Regions from separate parts of the Homo sapiens genome. Here region 1 is linked to region 2. The links are contacts of gene promoters, found by promoter capture Hi-C in human tissues and cell types (Jung and others, 2019). All regions are on one chromosome and are shown on one strand. Each heading gives the region's core, a stretch centred on a gene start or on the middle of the fragment in contact. The rest is flanking DNA. Distances are from core to core; before and after follow the strand shown. Region 1 holds the start of DNAH10OS (dynein axonemal heavy chain 10 opposite strand). Region 2 holds the start of TCTN2 (tectonic family member 2).

Evidence for each region. Contacts are between HindIII fragments. The study calls those that stand out against the background at their distance.
Region 1: the fragment with the promoter of DNAH10OS here is called in contact with the fragment with the promoter of TCTN2 in region 2 in 1 of the 25 tissues and cell types used here (mesenchymal stem cells).

Annotation. Positions count from the first base shown.
Region 1 is chr12:123,933,630-123,938,127 of GRCh38, reverse strand. It overlaps DNAH10OS (dynein axonemal heavy chain 10 opposite strand), which reads left to right and starts at 3,144. Exons shown (of 2, transcript NR_187476.1): 1 at 3,144-4,063. DNAH10 (dynein axonemal heavy chain 10) reads right to left here. Exons shown (of 79, transcript NM_001372106.1): 78 at 3,362-3,507; 79 at 2,414-2,793. The coding sequence ends at 2,647. CCDC92 (coiled-coil domain containing 92) reads left to right here. Exons shown (of 5, transcript NM_025140.3): 5 at 298-2,502. The coding sequence ends at 1,070. RefSeq lists an enhancer at 1-79. The HindIII fragment of the contact is 2,982 bases long and covers 1,207-4,188 here.
Region 2 is chr12:123,668,679-123,673,031 of GRCh38, reverse strand. It overlaps TCTN2 (tectonic family member 2), which reads right to left and starts at 1,919. Exons shown (of 18, transcript NM_024809.5): 1 at 1,710-1,919; 2 at 1,418-1,525; 3 at 900-976. The coding sequence starts at 1,791. The HindIII fragment of the contact is 13,736 bases long and covers 279-4,353 here.

The DNA.
Region 1 (4,498 bases), core at 1,895-4,394, 260 kb before region 2:
GCTGAGGTCTGATACTCTGCAATTGCCTGTTTTAAGTTCAGCATCTTTAAGGTTCAGAGACATTCTTTTATGCAGTAGGCCAGAGAACTAAGAGCCGGAAAGGGCCTCTGAGATGCCCCGATCTCCCCACCTCGGGGAGGGGAGGGGTCTTTCCAGAGCCCCCACAGCCCTGCCTTCTGCATGGCCCCCACAGCCTAGACAGGGCCCCCACCAGACAGGTCCGCCTGCCCCATAGGCCTCACCACTCGGCCTCAGTCTAATGAGTTCTTCACCTGCTTCCTCGGCTTATTCTTGTAGGAGACGGGACTTCTAAAAGCAGTGAATTAAAGAAAAGATGTGAAGAGCTGGAAGCCCAACTGAAAGTGAAAGAGAACGAAAATGCTGAGTTGTTGAAAGAACTGGAGCAGAAAAACGCGATGATCACAGTGCTGGAGAACACCATCAAGGAGCGAGAGAAGAAGTACCTGGAGGAGCTGAAGGCCAAGAGTCACAAGCTGACCCTGCTGTCTAGCGAGCTGGAGCAGCGGGCCAGCACCATCGCCTACCTGACCTCCCAGCTGCACGCCGCCAAGAAGAAGCTCATGAGCTCCAGCGGGACCTCAGATGCCAGCCCGTCAGGGAGCCCCGTGCTGGCCAGCTACAAGCCAGCGCCCCCCAAAGACAAGCTACCCGAAACGCCTCGCCGCCGCATGAAAAAGAGCCTCTCAGCCCCCTTGCACCCGGAATTTGAAGAGGTCTACAGATTCGGGGCAGAGAGCAGGAAACTCCTTTTGCGGGAACCAGTGGATGCTATGCCCGACCCCACCCCATTTCTGCTGGCTAGGGAGTCCGCCGAGGTCCACCTCATCAAAGAGAGGCCCCTCGTCATCCCCCCCATCGCCTCCGACCGAAGCGGCGAGCAGCACAGCCCGGCCCGCGAAAAGCCGCACAAGGCCCACGTCGGGGTGGCACATCGGATCCACCACGCCACCCCGCCGCAGGCCCAGCCCGAGGTGAAGACCCTGGCGGTCGACCAGGTGAACGGAGGCAAGGTGGTGAGGAAGCACTCAGGGACGGACAGAACTGTGTGAAGCCCGCCGTGCCCCACCCCGCGCTGTCCATGCACTGTGAGCACCACTGGGAAATCTCAGCCACACCTTTTCTGTTTAATCCCATGCATGCCAAACACTTTTCACACCTACCGACCCATTCTCCTTCTGCTTCTCTTGCCCTCTTCTTCACACCAAAATATGATCGTGTCCCTGCCGCAGAATATGTATTTCCTAATTGCTGTGGCCAAACGCCTGTGTGCCGAATCGCTTGCTTCTGATCCCGCTCCGTGTAACCTAAGTGCGCTGCAGGCAAAGCCCAGGCCACGGCTGCGTCACTACTGATGTTCACGATGCCACACAGTCACACACCTAATTCATTCTCAAGTCGGAGCAACACATACCAACCTTGACCTTATCCTCAAGCTCCAGGGCAGCCTGGCCGAGCAGCCCCTGCTCCCTCCTGGAGACCCTTGTCACCTCCCGAGCTCCTCCTGGAGACCCCTGTCACCTCCTGACCAACCTTTCCCAGGGCGGCACCGATCACCGAGCAGCCGTGCGTGTATCTCAAGGAACTAAATAAGATGACGCTACTCCTCATAGCACCACAACCTGAATGTGTGTTCATATTTTTTTGTTAGTTTTATCCAAAATGTTTAAGATCCCAACAAACTTTATTTTCTAAACCTGCCTTCCTTCTGTTTTGTGTCTTTTATTAAACAAACACCTGAAGGAGGGCTAGGAGACTGCAGGAGGGAGAGCAATCACAGGTCCCAGAAGCGACTCCGGCCTCCTCCCGGCCCAGAGCTAGTCCTTAGAATGTGCTGCGCTCCTGAGCTTCTGTGGGAAGCTGCTTTTGCCTCTGATGGCCCCTGCCCACTGTGCTGCCCGTGCTAGCCCCTCTCCTCCCTCATGGAGTGAAGCCACCCCTCACCTCCAGGTGGCCAGCCAGGGCTCCAGGCCAGCCTCATGGTGCACAGAGGGAAGGGGTGCCCAGTGACCACTGGTCCTGGAGGTTCTGTGTCCTTACCTGACCCCACACAGACCCAGGCAGGCTGGGGGTAGAAGCTCATGCAGGAACTAAACACTAAGCTCAACAACTTCACAGTCGCCGTAGCAGGTCAGAGCCAAAGAAGCTAGGGCCAGAGAGTTCTGGAAGGGGGAGAAGTGGCTCCAGGTGACTGGTCACTTCTGCTCTGTGCCCGACATCATCAGCCCTTCTTGCCAAAAAGGAGCATCTGCTGAAACAGACCTGGATCATCGAAAACACACCTTTGGAAATTACATTAGGATTCTCACTTGTGCCAATGCTATGTATGCCAGGCACTTTTGCCTAATCAAGTGTTTTCTCTGAGAAGGAAAAGAAAACTCCACACATCTTAAAATACTCTCCAATATTTACTTTTTGATTATATAAATTCCTTTTAAAAAGTAGTATTAAAAACAAAACCATTCAGGTTAATTTGTATGGAAAGAGATTTAAGTGGCTGATTTCAAATGAAAAATCAGTGTCAGTCCCCCTCCTGCCTCTTGAGAGGCCCCAAGAAATGACAGCAGACCCGATCACTCTGACAACCCCAGGCTCCGAATTCATTAAGCAGTTTTCTTCACCCAAAGGTTAATCAGAATTCAGGGTGAGGCATACTCCTTGCAGCACCCAGTGAGAAATGTGCCTCGTGGTAAAGAGATCAGCTTCAAAAACCAAGCCGACTCCCATGGCGTTCCTTCTCATGGAGGTGGTGTAGACGGGGGTCCGGAAAGTATTCTGCAAGGGAAAGGCAGGTGAGATGCCCCCACGGAGAGAGGGTGCAGAGGGATAAAGGCAGAGGTGCAGTGTAAGTCTTGACAGGCAGGGGCCCCTGTGCAAGACTGCACCTGAGAACACGCACAAGGCTGGGGCTGCTCAGGGCCACCCTCCGCCAGCTTCACGGGGACCTGGCTTCACACTGACACCCTGGTTAAAAGTGGGTCCTGGCCCAGGCAGAGCAGAAGACATCTGCTGTCCACACCAGCGGGAACCACTTTATGACTCAGGCAATGTCTGCAGCATTTTGCAAGAAGGGAGGGAGTCTCCCCTTGGTTAGTCTAGACCACAGGATCACAGCTTGAGCCTGACACCTCTGGAAGGACCGGCATCCACACACACATACAGCCGCGCCTTTTCCAGGAAGCAGCTATCCGTAGCTTTTATCACGGCTCCAAGACTCTCCCCAGCCCATAAAGCTTAGGCACCCCTGTTTTAAAAAGTAGGACTGTTGGAAACCACCTCAGCCATAACTACAGTCAGAAGAGGAAGGGCCCTGGTGTCAGAGAGGAGGGGCTGGGACCTTCACCTGCAGCTTGAGGCGATGGGCTTCAATGGGGATGATCTTCAGGATCGGCAGGTCCACAACCAGCACCTTGGGTTTGCTCTTGATAAGACATCCTTTTTCTATATCCCAGTCAGCACCTTCCAGGTACAGTCCTGAGACAAAGCATCCTAGGGACACAAGGCAGAGACTGGATACAACTGGAGCATGCACAGCCTGCCACGGAGTGGCTCTATCAGGCGCACACACAGCGACACACAGGCCACTGGCTGGCCTCCTCCCCAGCGCATTGGGGACAGCCCAGGCCCTTCTCCAGCATTTCTGTCCTGCCCACCTTCCCTCTGTGGAGGAGCAGCCCAGACAGGAGACCCTGTGGCCCTGCCCCATGGCCCAGAGAAATGGGTGTGGGGCGGTGGCCTCTCCCCCAGGAATCCTCATTCCTGGGGCATCAAGGCCCACGGACTTAGACCACCCTGGGCCCCCAGGCTAGAAAGATGCATGGTCCCAGAGTCAGAATGGGCACCATGGCAACCCCAGCTACCCTGTGAGCCGAAGTGGCTGGGGAGCAGGAAGTCGAAGCCTCACAGAGAAAGTGGTCTCCGGGGAGGAGGACCCAGCAGATGTGCAAAGAGAGGAACACACTCCTGTGGCCCCAGAGAGAGTGGTGGCCCGGACACCTGCCACCTCCCCTGCCACTGAGACCTGGAGAGTCCCTGCATCTTTACCGTAAGTCCCCAGTCCTTAAGCCATCTCAAAAGAGCTTTTGTTCCTTGCAGTTAAAAGAACTCTAAGACAACATGGACCCGGGGAAACAGCAGTTTCCAGCTCTCATTTGCACAGTCAGTAACCAATGTCTAAGGGACCTGAAGTTCTGGCATAATCAAAGAGTTCCAACCAAGTTAGTCCATGCTGCTCTGTGGCTCCCATGCCCCTGGCCCCGTCAGGGGTTACAAGAAAGCCACCTGATGGTTTTTGCAAGAGCTAATTCTGACCTAGGAGCCCACTTGCCATGAGCTAGCAGAGTGAACATGGTTCAGGTCTCCCCTGCCATAGACCCCAGGTCTCAACGGAGAAAGTGGAAGAGAAACTTCCGTATCCACCCTCAGAGGTGTTAAGACATGGGCAGTGCAGAGACACAGGAAATATTTGCAGCAGGCTGGC
Region 2 (4,353 bases), core at 670-3,169:
ATCACCCAAGCTGGAGTGCAGTGGCGTGATCTCGGCTCACTGCAATCTCTGCCTCCCGGGTTCAAGTGATTCTCCTGCCTCAGCCTCCAAAGTAGCTGAGATTACAGGCACCCGCCATCACGCCCAGCTAATTTTTGTATTTTTAGTAGAGATGGGTTTCACCATGTTGGCCAGACTGGTCTTGAACTCCTGACCTCAGATGATCCGCCCTCCTCGGCCTCCCAAAGTGCTAGGATTACAGGCGTGAGCCACCGCGCCTGACCAGCTTTTTCTTTTTTTTTAAGAGACAGGGTCTTGCTCTGTTGCCCAGGCTGGATGAAGTGCAGTGGTGCGATCATAGCTCTCTGCAGCCCTGAACTCCTGGGCTCAAATAATCCTCTTGCCTCAGCTACCCCACCCCCCTCCAAGTATCTGGGACTGTAGGTGTACGCCACCCACCTAATTTTTTTTTTAATTGTTTTGTAGAGACGAGGTCTCGCTATGTTACAGGCTGGTCTGGAACTCCTGGGCTCAAGCAATCCTCCCGCCTCAATCTCCCAAAGCGCTATGAGTACAGGCGTGAGCCACGATGCCTGGCATAAAGCTTTTTTGAATCACTGACCCATTTGATGATCTAAAGGAAACTGGTGACCCTCTCATCAGAAAAATGCACATACACACAGAACTTTACATACAATTTCATAGAGTTCACAGACCCACTGAAATACATCCAAGGACTCCTAACCCCAGGGTAAGGAACCCGTGGGCTGGATAAGTGTCTACCAGATCCAACAGCCCACAATTTCATGATTGTTGAGAGCATGGAGAAAGCCATGCCTTGTTAAATAAAGAGAGCACTGCAGAAACCCTAGCTGGGGGCCTCTTCACAGGCTACAGAGAAGGTTTACTTCTGGCCTTACCGCACCGGGGATCACAGTCACGCTCCAGTCTTCCGTCTCATTGTTCAGCACTCCACACGTCGGAATTGGCAATATTCCTAAAGAAAGAAGACCAGCATGCAAAGGCAGCAAGGTCCAGCAGCTCAGGGGGTGCATTGAGTCAGACTGCCTAGGATGGACTCACATTACAGCCTAAGATTGGGCCCTTTACAAGCTGCTTGACACTGGGACAGTGACAACCTCTCTGAACTTGTTTCTTCCTTGGTCAAAGGGGATGAAAAGATATTACTGTTCTTACTAGGAAAATGGGATGATGCACGATGTTAGCTCAATGAATGCTAACCATTATTATTTCAGGCTTTCTTCGAACCTGTCCGTCTGTCCTCTTTGGCCTACAGCAGCCGCCCGATCCTTTTCTCCCCATGCGACTTTGCAGAGAACAGAGGCAGGGGGCCCCAAGGATGCCACCTCTCCAGGCTCCTTGGGAGGTCTGGATCCAGTCCAACCCCCACCCTCCCCAAAAGAGGGCCGGACTTTACCCGCCTCGTCCTGCAGCACTGCCAGGGACACGGTCACACCCTCGGTGTCTCCGACCAGGGACGCGCTGACCGCAGGGCCGGACATTCGGATAAAAGGAGGGATGAAAGCTAGGCGGGAAGGAAAGGGGACAAGGAGGGGTTAGCAGTGGAAGAATCACCGCCTAAGGTGTGTGTGGCGGCTTGCTTTGGCGTTGTCGACTCCCGAAGCTCCCGGGGGAGTCCAAGTCTGGCCCTTTTAACGCCCAGTCCCCTCAGCCCCGGCCCACCGAGGTCACTGCCGCGCCGTACACACCCAGGTCCCCCCACAGAAGCCTCAGGATGCCCTGCAGAAGGAAAAGCCTCAAAAGAAGAGCGGCCGGAGGCTGGAAGCCCATGCCTTAGACCTCGCGGGCCGGGCACAGCAGAACCGCGCCCTCATTAGAACCCAGGAAGGACTCAGACACGAAAACGCAGCAGCCACTGCCCCGCCGCCGCCATCTTGCAAGCGAACGCCCGGAGCTATGGCAACCACCAATCGGCGGCCGGCCAGGAGGAACGCCGCGCTGTGATTGGACCAGTGGCAAGAGCGGGCACCCCGGCCCCGCCCACAAGGCCTAGCATTTTTGCTGCTTGACTCTGGTGGGGAGAGTGAGGGCTGAAAAACTACCTATCCGGTGCTCCACTTAGTACCTGGGTGACGAAACAATCTGTGCACCCAACCCCCGTGACACGCAATTTACCTATATAGCAACCTGTACATGGACCCCTGGGCCTAAAAGTTGAAAACATCAAAATTAAAAAGGTCCTGAAAAGCAGGAGTGCGTGTCCGGCTCAAAAACTGGAGTTTTCCCCTACCCTGGAATTAATCCAACAATAGCCAAGAGCGATCCTATAGACACTGGCTTCTAAATAAAAAGGGTGGGACTTGCTCCTTAATAAACTTGATTTTTATACGGATTTGTTTTAGGGGTGAGTAGAAAAAGGGGATGGGGCTGCCGCGCTGTGTTTATTATCTTTACTATCGTTTATGATGTATTATTTATATTTTATATTTTTATAAAATAAATATATATTTACAAAATAGATATACTTTGTTTTATATATATATATCAGATATACATACTTGATATATATAAAATACATATAGGCCGGGTCTGGCGGCTCATGCCTGTAATCCCAGCAATTTGGGAGGCCGAGGCGGGCGGATCACAATGTCAGGAGTCTGAGACCAGCCTGATCAACATGGTGAAACCCCGTCTCTACTAAAAATACAAAAAATTAGCCAGGCGTGGTGGCAGGCGCCTATTATCCCAGCTACTCAGGAGGCTGAGGCAGGAGAATTGTATGAATCTGGGAGGCGGAGGTTGCAGTGAGCCGCGATTGCACCACTGCACTCAAACCTGGGCGACAGAGCCAGACTCCGTCTCAAAAATATATTTATTTATTTATTTATCTTATAAAATATATATGTATTTATATTTTATCTTATATATATTTATCTTTTATATAAGTATATATTTTGTAAATTTTATACTTATATGTTATAATTTTATAAAATTTATATTTTTATAATTCTTATCATTATCATTTATTATCACTATTGCTTTTATTATCATTCTCCTAGGTTTTTGAAGGATTTTCTCCCCTGCACAGAGCTCTCAGCACTCTGAAAGCAGATCCAATCACAGAACACACAAGAGGTTTTGCCCAGCAATAGGACAGATGTGAAAGAATCAAAATTCTGTCTGGAAAAAAATTGTTTTTTCTTATATCAGTAGCCTCAGAACATTTCAAATATTGTCACGGCTTGGGGACTGAGAGTGCAGGGTCTGAGGTCAGGCTGCCTGGCATGGGATTTCGCCTTCCCTCCACAGATATTCTCAGCTGTTAAGTGACTTTGGGCAAGTCAACCTCTCTAAGTTTCAGCTTCCTCATCTATAAAAAAGGGATGATAATAATCCTTCCTTGGGGATTGTGTGAGGATGAAATGAGGTAACATATCTAATGAGGTTAAACCAATGGCTGGCATACAGTAAGCACTCAGTTAATGATCAGTTACTTGTTAACTATCAGAGAGGTGGTGTATCCTTTAGCTGAGACAATCATGGTGTTCAGCATTGTGGCTGACTGACGGTAAATGCCAAGTAAATGTTTGCCATTATTAGTCTTTTTTTTTTTTCTTTTTGAGACAGGGTCTCACTCTGTCACCCAGGCTGGAATGGTGCAGTGGCACAATCATAGCTCACTGCATCCTCAAACTTCTGGGCTCAGCTGATCCTCCCACCTCAGCCTCCCAAGTAACTGGCAATACACCACCACACCCGGCTAATTTTTGTATTTTTTATAGAGACGGGGTTTCACCATGTGGCCCAGGCTGGTCTCAAACTCCTGGGCTCAAGTGATCCTCCTGCCTTGGCCTCTAAAAGTGCTGGGATTACAGGTATGGGCCACCGTACCCAGCCCCATTATTACTCTTAATGTTCAGTTATATATTCATTGATCAGCAAATCTAACATTGTGAAAGGATTCTGAAAGTTGAGGCTTTATAAGGGCCTGACACTGGGTGTTATCTTTTTCTTATACTCCCTGAAAAACTGTGGGTCACTACAGTTGTAACATGAGCATGAAACTTTTCCCGTGTACCTCAGCTCCTCTCTGGAAGACTGCAAAATGTTTACCTCTCTTGATATCTTGGAATGAAGCCTAGGAGAACGTTACTAAGAGGAAGCTGTCAAACACTTAAATATTTCTGTTATTCCCCATCTGTCTTTGGGGGGAATTAATCTGCAAATTAAGTTGGCAAGGCCAAGCGGTAAAGATTAAGAGATAAATCCTCCCAAAAGAAAACATTTCTGGGCCGGGCTTGGTGGCTTATGCCTGTAATCCCTGCACTTTGGGTGGCAAAGGCACATGGATCACTTGAGGCCAGGAGTTCAAGACCAACCTGGGCAACACAG